Regions from separate parts of the Homo sapiens genome. Here region 2 is linked to region 1. Evidence: promoter capture Hi-C in 16 types of primary human blood cells and fetal thymus (Javierre and others, 2016). All regions are on one chromosome and are shown on one strand. The core of a region is centred on a gene start or on the middle of the fragment in contact, and the rest is flanking DNA. Distances in the headings are between cores, read along the strand shown. Region 1 holds the start of CALCOCO1 (calcium binding and coiled-coil domain 1). Region 2 overlaps LOC105369777 (a long non-coding RNA gene).

Region 1 (6,540 bases), core at 2,785-5,284:
ATGGCAGTCATCTCCCTTCCCCAGACGAGTTAAACTATATTCTTAAAAAAAAAACAACAGTCCCCAAATCTCCCACTCTCACTCAGAAATATTCTTTGATCCCAATAACTGTAACTTCCACCTGTCTTCACAGTATTATTCCCCTTTTTCAAAAAATCTTCAGTGACTAACTTCCCATTCCTGATGGGAGTGAAGTCCAAACCTTTGTACATGATGTATTGATGAGGAAAACAGTAGCTACTATAAAAAATAAACCCATTTTAGCAGTGTAACAAAATTGAAATTGATTTATTGGTCAAGTGAAATCTGAAACACATGATCCTGATTAGTGGTCCGCTCTCTGCCACGTGATGATTCAGGGAACCAGCTTCCTTCCATCCTGTGGCTCCACTGTCTTTAACATGTGGCCTTCAGGGTCACTGTGCCTAAGGTCATCTTCATCAAGCTAGACAGGAAAAAAAATAGGAAGGAACTTTTTTGGAGGGTTTTATGGGCCAGACTTGAAAATGGAACACATTAATTAAAGGAGAAGCTTAAAAATGTGGTATAGCTAGGCCGGGCGCGGTGACTCTTGCCTGTAATCCCAGCACTTTGGGAGGCCGAAGCGGGCGGATCACGAGGTCAGGAGATCGAGACCATCCTGGCTAACACGGTGAAACCCCGTCTCTACCAAAAATACAAAAAAATTAGCCAGGTGTGGTGACGGGCACCTGTAGTCTCAGCTACTTGGGAGGCTGAGGCAGGAGAACGGCATGAACCTGGGAGGCGGAGCTTGCAGTGAGCTGAGATGGCGCCACTGCACTCCAGCCTGGGCGACAGAGCAAGACTCCGTCTCAAAAAAATAAAAAAATAAAAAATAAAAATAAAAAAATAAAAAAATGTGGTACAGCTGTGTGTCCAAGAAAAAGAAAGAAACAGGTTCTGATAAACACATAGGCTCTGGCTCACTTGACATTCAAAACTCTCTATACTCTGGCTTAAGTCTGTCTTTCCAATTTTATCTTCCATTATCCAATTATCCAACTGTAGCTTCTTTTTGTTGTTGTTGTTGTTGTTGTTGTTGTTTGTTTTGTTTTTTGAGACAGAGTGTCACTCTGTTGCCCAGGCTGGAGAACAGTGGTACCATTCTGGCTCACTGCAACCTCTGCCTCCTGGGTTCAAGCGATTCTCCTGCCTCAGCCTCCCAAGTAGCCGGGATTACAGGCACGCGCCACCATACCTGGCTAATTTTTGTATTTTTGGTAGAGATGGGGTTTCACCAGTTGGCCAGGCTGGTCTTGAACTCCTGACCTCAAGTGATCCGCCCACCTTGGCCTCCCAAAGTGCTGGGATTACAGGAGCAAGCTACCACGCCTGGCCTCCAACTGTAGCTTTTATTCAGCTTTGCTGCAATCACAACCTACCCCAAAATCTAAGCGACTCACAACAACCAGTGCTGGCTTCTGATTTATGTATATGCAGGTTGTGGGTAAGCAGTAGCTCAGCTCCACAGGTCTTCTCATTCCCAGGCCCAGGCAGAAGGAGCAACTCTCATGTGGATTATTCCCATTCTAGTGGCAGAGAAGAACAAGAAAGTGGAAACTCATGTGTTCAAACATGGCATGAGTCACATCTGTTCACATCCCATCAGCCAAATTATGAAACATGACAAAGCCCAAAGTCAATGACATGAGACATCTATTCCTTCTACAGGAGATACTGCAAGTCACATGGCAGTGGGCAGGAATGAGAGAGGAAATAATTTCAAACAATTAGTCCATCCACTACAACTGCCATTTTCCATCTGGAGTACATGGCAGACATTACTACCCAGCACTCTTTCCTCAGAATCCTCAACACAACATTTCAGGCAGACATTACCAATAATCTGAGTTTGCCTAAATACATAAATAAAGGTTGAAATTGATGTGCTATTATGTGACTCTAGGCTCATTATCCATTCCCACCTCCAAATCTTTGCTTTGGCCTAGAAGAAGCTTACCCTCCCCAGTCCCCATCTTGCCAAACTATCCAAATTTAATCTATCCTTCAAATACTTGAATATTTGAAAGTAATGACTATAATTAAAATAATGAATTACATTTATTATTTTAAAATAATGAATTACATATATTATTTTAAAATAATGAATATTTACTATTCATTCTTTCAATAAAAGTAACTGAATACCTAGCATAGTACCTGCCACATATTTGTTGAATGAATCTGTTTCACATTACTTTGTGCCTTGCACTGAGCACATAAATGCTCAGTGAACATTTGTCTCCTGTTAATGAACCAGCACTGTTCCTTAGAACAATGGGAGTTAGTATCACATGCCAGAGTTTCTGGACTGGGAGTATGGTGACTGCTTGTGCTTAAATCTTGATTCTGCCACTCACTAGCTGGATGACTCCAGGCAAGTCATTAATTGTGCCTCAATCTCATCATGTGTAAAATGGGGATAATAACAAGGCGTATTACATAAGCCTGTTGTATTAAATGGGAAAATTCTTAGCATAGTTTGAACAGATCATAAGCACCCAAGAAATGGAAGTTGTTACCATTTTTAGCTCCGAGACTGTTTTCTCGTAGACCTTTATTTTGGGCGGAAGACAAGAGCCAAGAACTCTTGAGACTTGGGTCCTTGAACAGACCTCACTCTTAACCCACTCCAGACCTTGAGCTACCTCCTCATCCAGAAACTGGTTCCCTAACTCATAAATCCTGACTAATGACACAGACACATCACCTTAATGTTTGTGCAGCCCAGTAACTAATTTTTAAGTGCCTGGAGATCTTCAGATGAAAGACACTGAGGGCAGACACCGCATTCAGTCATAAAAGCAAAACACTACCAAAAAACTTGGAAAAGGCAGAAGCTCCATAACTTAGTGCAGTAGAGAATTAAAGCAGGCACCTAGGAAGAGGAAATCAATCCTTAAGACTGTAATCCTTTAATGCAGAGCCAGAGAAAGAGGTAATTCTGAATGCCTCCGACTACAGGGATGGAGAATAGCGAGAGGGGGGACAGGATGCCCAAGTCTATAACGTGACTTGGGGTGTGGGAGACGTGTCAATCTTTCACCTCTCCTAAATAAAAACCGGAACGTCAACATGTATTGTTATCCTAATTAATTTAAGCCACTTAAAAGGCTTGGGCAAACAGGCCCCATAAGTGGCTTGTTTGTGAATTGTGACAGGTCCTGAATTATGCCAAGCTCCCTTTTCAATTTCATTCTTCTCATTCCACCGCTCCTACCACCACCTCAGTCAATTGTATCCTCTTCCTAGACCCAGAAGCCACTCTGGGGGAGCCCAGTCCAGATGTGGATATGGTCAGGCCCCTTAGCACTGAAATCCTCAAGTTGGAAAAAAATGGTCAGCTGTGCAGAAGACATCATTCTTACAAGGTCTGTCCCTGAGATTGAAGTAAAGAAGAAACTGCTATACCCCAGCTATCAGTTTCCCATCCCCAAAATGGTGGGTAGCTGTGGTGTAGTGGCAAGAATATATGACGTGGAATTAGCCAAGGCTAATGCAGTTCTACATTTCATAGCTTTGACACTTCACACCGCCTCCTTAACCGTACTTCACTTTCTACATCTATAAAGCGTGCATAACGCTTAACGCCTATCTCACAGGTGGGTGCGAAAAGTACAGGACGGGACGCAACAGAAACCGCTCTGCCCACCGTTAAAGCGTTATATGGAAGGCTTTAGAGCCGTAAATCCTCCCCAGCCCCCAACAACGCACGTTACAAACCAGCAGCCACCCCTAATGCAGCCGGCCCCCTCCTAAGGGATCATGGGCCTTGAAGTCCTTTGCTGGCCACACCCTCGTTTTCTGTCATAGGAGTGAGAACTACGCCTCCCAGGATGCCGCGGTGAGGCCGCCGTCACGGACGCCCTCTTCCCCGCCCTCCTTGCGCGCAGCCTTCTGGGATGTATAGTCCTAGATCCGAGCACGCAGCGGCAAAAGGGCGCAGAAGAACCACAAACCCCAGAAGCCCTCGCGCCCACTCTTCTCCCTCCCCTCCAGAAGTCGGAGTGCTGTTTTTGTTGTTGGTGAAAGGTGAGGGGAACAGCTGATCCGTCTGTTGGGTAAGAAACTTGGCCTAATTGGGGGCGATCTTATGGGAGGGGAGGGTCACCCCACTTTCCAGTTTGGGGAAGGATAACGTAAGGGAACTGTCGAAGGGGAATACAGGAGCGTTTGGGTTGTAACCCTTTCCGTACTGGAGAAGCCACCCCCGCTGTTTGGGGAGTTCTTGGTTTCAAGGGGACTCTGATTGGGGGTGGGGGGCGCCCCCTCGTCGTCCTCTCCTTCTTCTCAATGCGTCTCTATAAAGCTGATCCCTTCAAGGGAGCTGAAATCTGCTTATTCGCTCCCAGGCAAGACGTGTCCCCTACACGTCTTCCCTCTCTCCCCTACGCAAATCCAAAGGCCTTTACGACGCTGAATCCCTGGGGAGGAAGGGGGACCTTCCAAGGTGTAGAATGTCAAGGAACTCTAGAGCCCTACAGAGTAGGGGATGGGACACCCGCTCTCCGCCCCATCATGTGAACATCTGAATCAGGCTACACACCTACATCTTAGGTGCCCAAAACTTTCTTTCGGACATGAAGAACGTTTACAGCTGTTACGGATTTTCTTTGTGGGGTGTATTTTAGGGTTCTCCAGGTATATCTTTGGGGACAATTTACCCCCACCCTTAGAAAGCTGGAAGAATTGCATTTGGAGAAAACATGGATTAGTTTCAACCAGGAATTTTTCAGGGAGATGAACATTAAAAAAAACTTTTTGTTCTACCTATTTGGGGGACAGAAGTTGCTCCTTTTTGTGTTGCTGGCTCACCTTTATCCACTGAGTTTCTGTTTTCTTTTAAAGTTCCTGTCCCCTGGACTTCAGCCTGGTGTGGGTTTGTGATGTTTGGGGGCGTGCATATGACTAGTGACAATGGCTGGTTGGACATGTCAGCTGTGAGTGACACAGGAAATAGATTAGTGGGCTGGAAAGGAGTGATGAATAAGAGGGCCATCTCACAGCCCTGGACTGAGGAGTTCTTTTGATCGTTATTATTGTTATCTGTCCTCACCCCACCCTCATATTTTCCAATTAACTCTCCCCAGCTAACTTGGAACACCCCTTCCTCTCAACCCCATCCTGTAGTGTGTCTCCAGCTACCAATACAAACAGATGGAAGGATGGAGGCTGAGGGGAGCAGAGAGAAAATGAGGAGAGAAATACTAAAGTGAAACCAGTAGGTTTCTAGTCCTGCTGCAGGCACAGTCTGGAGAGAAGAATGTTAGGTTCTTTTTGAACTATCTCCCCTTTCCTCAACGTTAAATATACATTTCCACTTCTTGGGGCCCCTTACTTCCCACTTTCTAGTCTGTTCCCTGCCCTGGGGTGGGGCTTTCCTGGCTCCAGGCCCCCACATTCCATCTCCCCACCCCCACCACGTTCCTGCTAAGCGCCTCACTCCACCCTTGAAGTTGCCGCCTCCAGAATTCTTGACTTCCTGGAATAATAAGTCAAGGGACAGAACCTGTCTTTCCTTATATCCTCCCCTTCCCTTTGTCTCTTGGATGCCAGCAGAAGCTTTCTGCTTCCCTAGAATTCATGGGGGTAGGCAGCTCAGAGAGATGAAAAGAGCTGAGAGCTCAGGAGCCTAAGGATTTGGGCTCAGTTCCCCTCGACCCCCAGCCATATTCTAGCTCTGAAAACTCAACCATTCCTTTCAGAGATTAGTTGCTGCTTTCTGATGTCATAACTCATTCCTGGATACAGCTGGGTCAACAAGCTTAGGAGTAGGTAAGGACACCTCTCTCAATGAGAGGGCCCCACACCTCAGTTGGATTTTGTATTCAAGAGCCAGGATGTGTGGGAGATGGGATGGAGAAATGGAGGCTGTCGACCAAGTCGCAGTATCCCAGGCTCTGTCCCCGTCAGTGTCCTTTTGGGAGCAAAATTAGAGAAGTCTGAACCCTCAGAAGGGTCTATGAGCCAGAGCGGGTACAGTGTGAGACAGGATGGGGACGGACTTGGAAGGCCAGACCTACGTCCTAGAGACTAAGAGTGATACCTCAAAAATGTCCCGTAACCCTCAGGGACTAGAAACCAGGTATGCCTTATCTCCAGGTGTAGTGGCAGGGGCTGTGAGTGTGTGGTGCTGGAGCTGTGGGGGGAAGGAGGTGGACTGGAAAGACTTTAGGCTATCAACCCTTTCTTTCATAGGAGGACAGATATCTCAAGGCCAGGATGGAAGAATCACCACTAAGCCGGGCACCATCCCGTGGTGGAGTCAACTTTCTCAATGTAGCCCGGACCTACATCCCCAACACCAAGGTGGAATGTCACTACACCCTTCCCCCAGGCACCATGCCCAGTGCCAGTGACTGGATTGGCATCTTCAAGGTATCTCTGGAACCCCTTTTGGCTTAGGTTTATGGGCTGTGAGTTGGTTGGAATAAGGGGAATGATTGGGCTCTTGGATTCTCAACCTCAGGTTGATAGAGAAGAAGAGAGAAAGATGTCACAGATGACAGAGGCCGCCTG
Region 2 (6,540 bases), core at 3,020-5,519, 470 kb before region 1:
CCTGCCCGGGCTCTTCTTGCCTTACTGGCTAAGCCTGCTAGATTTTGGGGACACAGGCCTATCAGCTCTTTCCCTTCTCCAGGCCCAAGAGCTATTCCTTCCCCACCCCTCCCCTGCTAGAGCCCTCGCCCCTCCCATTCATCCCGGGAGGACTGGCTCGGTTCCTGTGGAAGCTTCCCAAAGCCCGCAGGAAGCGTCTGAATTTCTCTGACAGGGAGAGTGAAGAGCAGGTCAGAAAGATGACCTGAGACAGAGGGAGTGACTGGGATGGGGTCTTAGACAGGGGAGACCACAAGGTAAGGGACAGTCTGTTGAGAGGCCCAAGAAAAACAGAGATTTCCAGGGAAGTAGATAGATGCAAACCCAGTGAGCAAAAAGAGCCTGAGACCCTGAGAGACACATTCCAGCAGAGACCCTGAGTGACAGAGACAGACGGAGAGAGCCCTTCTCATGTGTCCAGCCTGGGACATGCTGTACCAGCGCCTCTGTCGGCTTTCTCTTGCCTGTCTGCCTGTCCCTGGCTGACGGTCCCTTTGTCTGTCTAGCTCTTTGTTTGTTTGTCTGTTTGCCTGTCTCCCTCCTGGTTGCCCCTTTCTTTCCCTTCTGCTGTCTATCTGTTGGTCCAGAATTCTCCGTCTGTCATTGCCCTCTGCCTGTCCACTATCTATGGAGAGCAAACTGCCCACTGGGATCGTGGGGCCCCTGTGTCCTTGCCTCCTGATCTTGGACAGGTTCTTGCTTTTCCTTCTCCTGATTTTGGGTCTCAATTTCCTCCTTTCTAAGGTGGCCCTACTTTCTGCCTCCTATCATGTTTATGAGCCTCAGGAGTGTGGAAAAGTGACTGTATTTATGGTTGCTCAGGCATCCTAACAAAGGGTTTAACGCATTTGAGGAACAATATTGCTCTTCAACCTTCTAAGGACAAAGCAAGAAGACAATAATGGCTGCAGCATGGAGCACAGTGGTTAGACATTCAGAGAGACTTCCTAAAAGGGCAGTGTGGAAAATATTAGAGAAGGCCTGCTAAGACGTTAAACAACCCCTTTCATAATGTCCTGAGGAGGAGTCCCATGGCAGGAAGACACGCAACATGACCTTCCTTAGTCTGTGTGGTCTGAGAAAAAGGCTTTTGATGTTATGAGATAGCAGTGACTGGCAGGAGGCGGCTAGGGTACAACCCTTGCCATCAGCTATCCTAGGCTCCCACCTGCACAGCCTCTCAGGTGGCTGGGGATTGGGCCCTGAGGGAAAAAGCGTGTGGAGGAAGTGCTATCTATCTCCGCACCTCCACCCTGTTTCTCTGTCACTTCCCCAAGCTGAGGACCACCCCGCCCTCGCCCCCCGATAATCCATGAGAGATGGCTGCTGGGGACGGAGTGATGTATGTAATGCAGATAAAATGTCAGCAATTCTAAATGGGTCCGGAGATGCAGCCGTGGGTTGGGGGGAGGGAGAGAGGGCGGAGCAGGGGGGAGAGAGGAAGGGAAAATGAGATGTGGTCCTTACCAGGGATGGCAGCAGGGACAGACACCCTCCTCCCCCCAGCAAAGGCCAGAGGAGGGGTGGGCCCAGGAGACAGGAGCCCAGATGAGATTTTGAAGAGGGAGCTGGAGGGTGGGGGTTAGAGGGGAGGAGGACGCGGGCGGGGGCAGTGGGGCCGGAGCTGCTGATGTATAGCGGTTTCATAACTTCCTCAGTATTAAAGGCAGGTTCATGGGGAGGGCAGCGCCATTAATCACCAGGCTGAATGGGGCTGGGATTTGCTGAGAGGCGCGCTTGCTGTCTGCTGCGCCTGCTCAGCTCAGGGTGGGAGGGGGCAAGCAGGGATGTCCCTCCTGAACTAAGGGGTGAGACCCCAGGACGCTATTCTGGGTGTTGGGCAAGTGGGTCCTTGCCTGTAGAGCAGGGGAGCCAGGGGCTGGGGACTGGCAGAAAGAAAGAGAAGGATGAGGAAGGTTGTGGCAGGGGCTAGGAGAGGAGGGTCAGGGGCTGTGGGGAATGATGGGGGCAGAGGCTGAGAGGATTCTAGGGGAGGAAAACTGGGGAGGGAGGATTGTGCATTTGAACATGAAATTGATCACATGTAAATATAATGCAAATGACATGCAAATAAGCATAGGATTTCTCTGGGTCCACAGCTCAAGCATTCTCTTTCTTGGATTGAGCACTGGGGCCAATTTGCATTCAGTTCTAGGCCTAGTGCCTCGTTTCTTTATTATTCATATTTTCAGAGGGAGAACTCAAATCTTGTTAAGGGAGTGGTGGGGCCAACGTGGGCTGGTCCTCTGGACTTCTTGGAAAAGGGTGAAACATCAGGAAAATCAACATGCTTGAGTGACAGTGAGTGACAGTGAGGGAGCAGAGTGGTAGGACTCCTGGGCTACATGCCTGAATTAATGGGGGTCAAAGAGGCAGAGGCTCAACAGTAAGGTAGAAAGGTGGAGAGAACAGACATATCCCCACAGCTTATCTGATAGACTCAGAGCAGATAAGACAAGGATGCATCATGTGTCCCGTGAAGTAGGCATTGTCATCCTCTCTTCCAGGTGAAGAACGAAATGATTAGCCCAAGGTTCACAGAGGTCATGAGCTTCCTAAGGTCACACTGCTGGCAAGTGGCAGACTCCCAGCTCCAAATGTCCTTGAAAGTTCAGTGCTCTTTTCAACCTGCTATCAGAACATCCTTGAGCTGGACATGGTGGCTCATGCCTGTAATTTCAGCACTTTGGGAAGCTGAGGTGGAAGGATCACTTGAGCTCCGGAGTTTGAGACCAGCCTGGGCAATATAGTGAGACCCCCATCTCCACAGAAAAATTTAAAAATTAGCAGGGTGTGGTGGTGCACATCTGTAGTCCCAGCTACTTGGGAGGCTGAGGTGGGAGGATTGCTTGAGTCTGGGAGGTGAAGGTTGCAGTGAGCTAAGATTGTGCCACTTCCCTCCAGCCTGGGCAACACAGTGAGACTTTGTCTCAAAAAAAAAAGGCTGGGCATGGTGGCTTACTTGCGCCTGTAATCCCAGCACTTTGGGAGGCTGAGGCAGGCAGATCACCTGAGGTCAGGAGTTCAAGACCAGCCTGGCCAACATAGTGAAACCCTGTCTCTTCTAAAAATATAAAAATTAGCCGGGCGTGGTGGCAGGTGCCTGTAATCCCAGCTACTCAGGAGGCTGAGGCAGGAGAATCCCTTGAACCTGGGAGGCGGAGGTTGCAGTGAGCCGACATTGTGCCACTGCACTCCAGCCTGGGTGACAGAGCAAAACTCTGTCTCAAAAAAGAAAAAAAAAAGTATGTCCCTCAAAGTGTTGCTGAGAGGAGTAAAGGAAACAATCCACATAAAGCACTCAGGGTGGTGTCTGGTGTGGACAAAGCACTCACTAACGGTTAGTTATTGTCACTATCACCCTTACCACTATTCTGAAAGATGTGGAATGGAGGACAGAGACAGAGAGAGGGATCACCAGAGAGATGAGAGGGGCAGTATGGGTGGGAAGGAAAGGACAGGTTCAAGAGGGCTGCAGGAGCAAGAGAAGGCAAATGACAGAGCCAGGGCCAGAGGCAAGGAAATTGTCTTTTGGGAACATTGCAGGGGAAGGAGCAGAGCTCAGAAGAATCACCCTAGGTTCAAGTTCCTGCTCTGTGACTGGTTCCCTGGGAGTGCAGGGCAAGGCAGGGCTGGGCCTCGGTGTTGAGTAGGCTGGAAGCTAGGATTCTTGGGTCGTCCTCCCACTTGGTCCCATGGCCACTCTCTCAGACTCATCTTGATCCTCTTCTAGTTGCTCAATTTGGTTCAACCTGTGGGAGATGCTCCTCCCATTCTCCAAGTCTCACTTCCATCCTTCCTGCTAAAGGACTTGGGGATCAGTCCCATTCCCTTGTCTGTCTGTCTATCTGATGTCTGTGTGGTCCCTCAGGATAATTGCTCTGGACAACTCTAACACCACTCAGACAGATTGTCCGGCCTCCTGGCCCTGACATCTCCCACCACTGCATCAAGCCAAATTACTCGGCCCCCCCAAGCCCCGGGCTCTGGTGAAATCCGATTAGTGAGGAGAGAGCTGCACTGAGCTGACAGCTCCTCCGATAATTGCTTCCCAAGTAAGTGATGCAAATCAGCCCATCCAGCCTATTCCTGCTCCTCTCTTGGGGACCCAGGCGTCCAGGCCCCAGGAGATGGAGGACACCAGAGTTGAGGAGACCTAGACGCTGTCATCTTCCTCCAGTTAAGTAGGCATAATCCATAAAGCTAGGTTGTGCTGCCTTGGGGCTGAGGTGTGCGTAGCAGGGTAGCGAGGCTGAGCCAGGGACCCCACTGGCTCTGCATTTCTGTCTTAACTGAGAGGGTGTCACTTTGTCACCTTATTCTCACCCCTTGGAGAATAATCCCATTTCTTGTAAGGTAGATGAAGGCAGAGATATAGAAGATACAGAGACAGCGAGATGGCTGAACCTGTTGAGAAACAAATCAGGCAGGTGCGGTGGCTTACACCCATAATCCCAACATTTTGGGAGGCCGAGGTGGGAAGATCACTTGAGCCCAGCAGTTCAAGACCAGCTTGAGCAACATAGCAAGACCCTGTCTCTACAAAAAAAATTTTTAAATTAGCTGGGTGTGGTGGTGCGCACCTGTAGTCCCAGCTACTGGAGAGGCTGAGGCGGGAGGACTGCTTGAGCCTAGGAGGTCGAGAGTGCAGTGAGTCATGATCATGCCACTGCATTCCAGAGTGAGACCCTGTCTCAAAAAAAAAAAAAAAAAAAAAAAAAGGACACAAATGGATGAACTCACAGCCTAGCTCCTCTGGTTGTGGGCCCTGCAGATAGCTTTCTCTCTTTGTAAGTGCCCCTCCTCACTAGGCTGAGGAAAAGACATGGAGTGTTAAGTCCCCACAGATGGAATGGGGAGGCATGGGGAATCTGATCAAGTCTGGAGACTTTTGCATCTGTGCCAAGGACATGTCCTTGGGATGCAGTGGCCCTTGCTTAACTCACACATCAAGGAGCCCTTTTCCCTTCCCCAAATCAGGGCCCTTTAAAGGGCCTGTTAATGCTTCTTCCTTAATGCATTTCCTTCCTACATCTTTACTTCAGGTTCTTTCTTGCTGTGACCTCCTTATCCCAACTTCTGCTGACCTTGGAGACCTGAAGAGTTACTTTCCTTGCAATCCTGAACTTCCAACTCCAAACCTAACCCTGCATGCAGGTCACTGTCTTTGGGAAATCTACAGGATGAGCTCCCCAGTCTTGTCCTCCGTGCTTGTGTGTCTGATAGGGCTTCATGGACTGGGTCTTGGGTACTCAGACTATCATCTGCCTGAGACCCTGGCAGAGCAACAGCAATAACTACCCTTTGTGGAGCCCAAATTCTGTAATAAGCACTTAATGTAATTAAGTCATTTAAACATCACAAAAGAAGATAGAGATTACAATGATTATCCCATTTTACAACTGAGATAACTGAGGCACAGAGAAATTAAGTAGCATGCCCAAGGTCACCATGAGTAAGTGGCAGAGCTTGGATTCAAACGCAGCAGTCTGATTCCAGAGCCCAAAGTCCTGAGGCCTCTGCTATGCTGTCTTCACTGTCCTATGCTCTTTTGATGTTTGTTGGGCTAATCGGGACAGGACCCAGTGTAGTGGAAGTGGGGAAGGTGGCTACACTGAAAGTTAAACACCAGAACCCCCTTTGGGGCTCCCCATGTCAGAAACAGTGAGTGGGAGCTGAACAGGGTGAAACTTAGTATCTATGAAGGGGGAAACATGGCCTTCACCTTCTCCAATTCCCGACCTTTGTTTTGTGCAGTGGGAGGCCCCGCAGCTAGACAGCCCTTCCCCGTGAGAAGCGGCGAGGCAAGGGAAAGGCTGAAAGATCCGCCTAGCAGCCCAAGTGAGCAGAGTCGGAGCTAGGACCCAAAGAGGCCGATAGATGGCGCTCATGGCCCAACACAGCTCCAGCAGCCCGAGGAAACAAAAAAAAAAAAAAAAAAACAAGTGAGCCGGTTAACCCCTTCCCTCCCGGGCTCAGGACAGAGGGGCTGGCTGGTGGGTATGCCTGGAGCCCTGCCCCAGGACCGGTGACTCAACTCTCTAGGCTCTTACCCAGGCGATAACCTGGGTCATCTTCTGTTCCTGCCCCACAAGGCTCTACCCGTAAATCACAGTCAGCAGCCTCCTGAAGACTTCCCAGAAGACATGAAGACTAATAAATGGAAGAGACTGGTTGGAAGGGCTGCACCCAAGCCCATGTTTCATCTCTTGGGCTCTATCTCTTGAAAGCCTCAGGGTCCCTGTTTCTAAGCACGCCTACTTCAGGAGAGCGCCTCACCTCCATCTTTCCTGGGAGTGACTCACTGGGCGGGGAGGAATAGCATGGACTAGAGAGAGAGAAGGCCCCAGGCCCCTCTGACATTGGCTGTAGGGACTCACTGTGGGCTGCCTAAGCCTCAGTTTCTCCTTATATCTGGACTTCCTATCTCTGGGTTCCCTGGGGTGGATGGGCTTATAGGGACAGAAACAGTTATTCAAGTCTTCTAGGAAATTGAAATCA

Evidence for each region. Contacts are between HindIII fragments. The CHiCAGO score rates a contact against its expected background, and 5 or more counts as called.
Region 2: a fragment that was not itself captured here is called in contact with the fragment with the promoter of CALCOCO1 in region 1 in 11 of 17 cell types (naive CD8 T cells, total B cells, naive B cells and 8 more); the score reaches 7.2 in naive CD8 T cells.

What each region holds. Positions count from the first base shown.
Region 1 is chr12:53,724,946-53,731,485 of GRCh38, reverse strand. CALCOCO1 (calcium binding and coiled-coil domain 1) reads left to right here and starts at 4,034. Exons shown (of 15, transcript NM_020898.3): 1 at 4,034-4,082; 2 at 6,220-6,399. The coding sequence starts at 6,244. LOC105369774 (a long non-coding RNA gene) reads right to left here and starts at 4,907. Exons shown (of 3, transcript XR_944973.3): 1 at 4,837-4,907; 2 at 1,404-1,550; 3 at 259-445. RefSeq lists enhancers at 3,882-3,941, 5,259-6,458. The HindIII fragment of the contact is 3,607 bases long and covers 1,979-5,585 here.
Region 2 is chr12:54,191,119-54,197,658 of GRCh38, reverse strand. All of the region lies in intron 2 of LOC105369777 (a long non-coding RNA gene), which reads right to left. Among named protein-coding and RNA genes, the nearest start is that of SMUG1, 5.4 kb to the right of the region's middle. The HindIII fragment of the contact is 8,187 bases long and covers 176-6,540 here.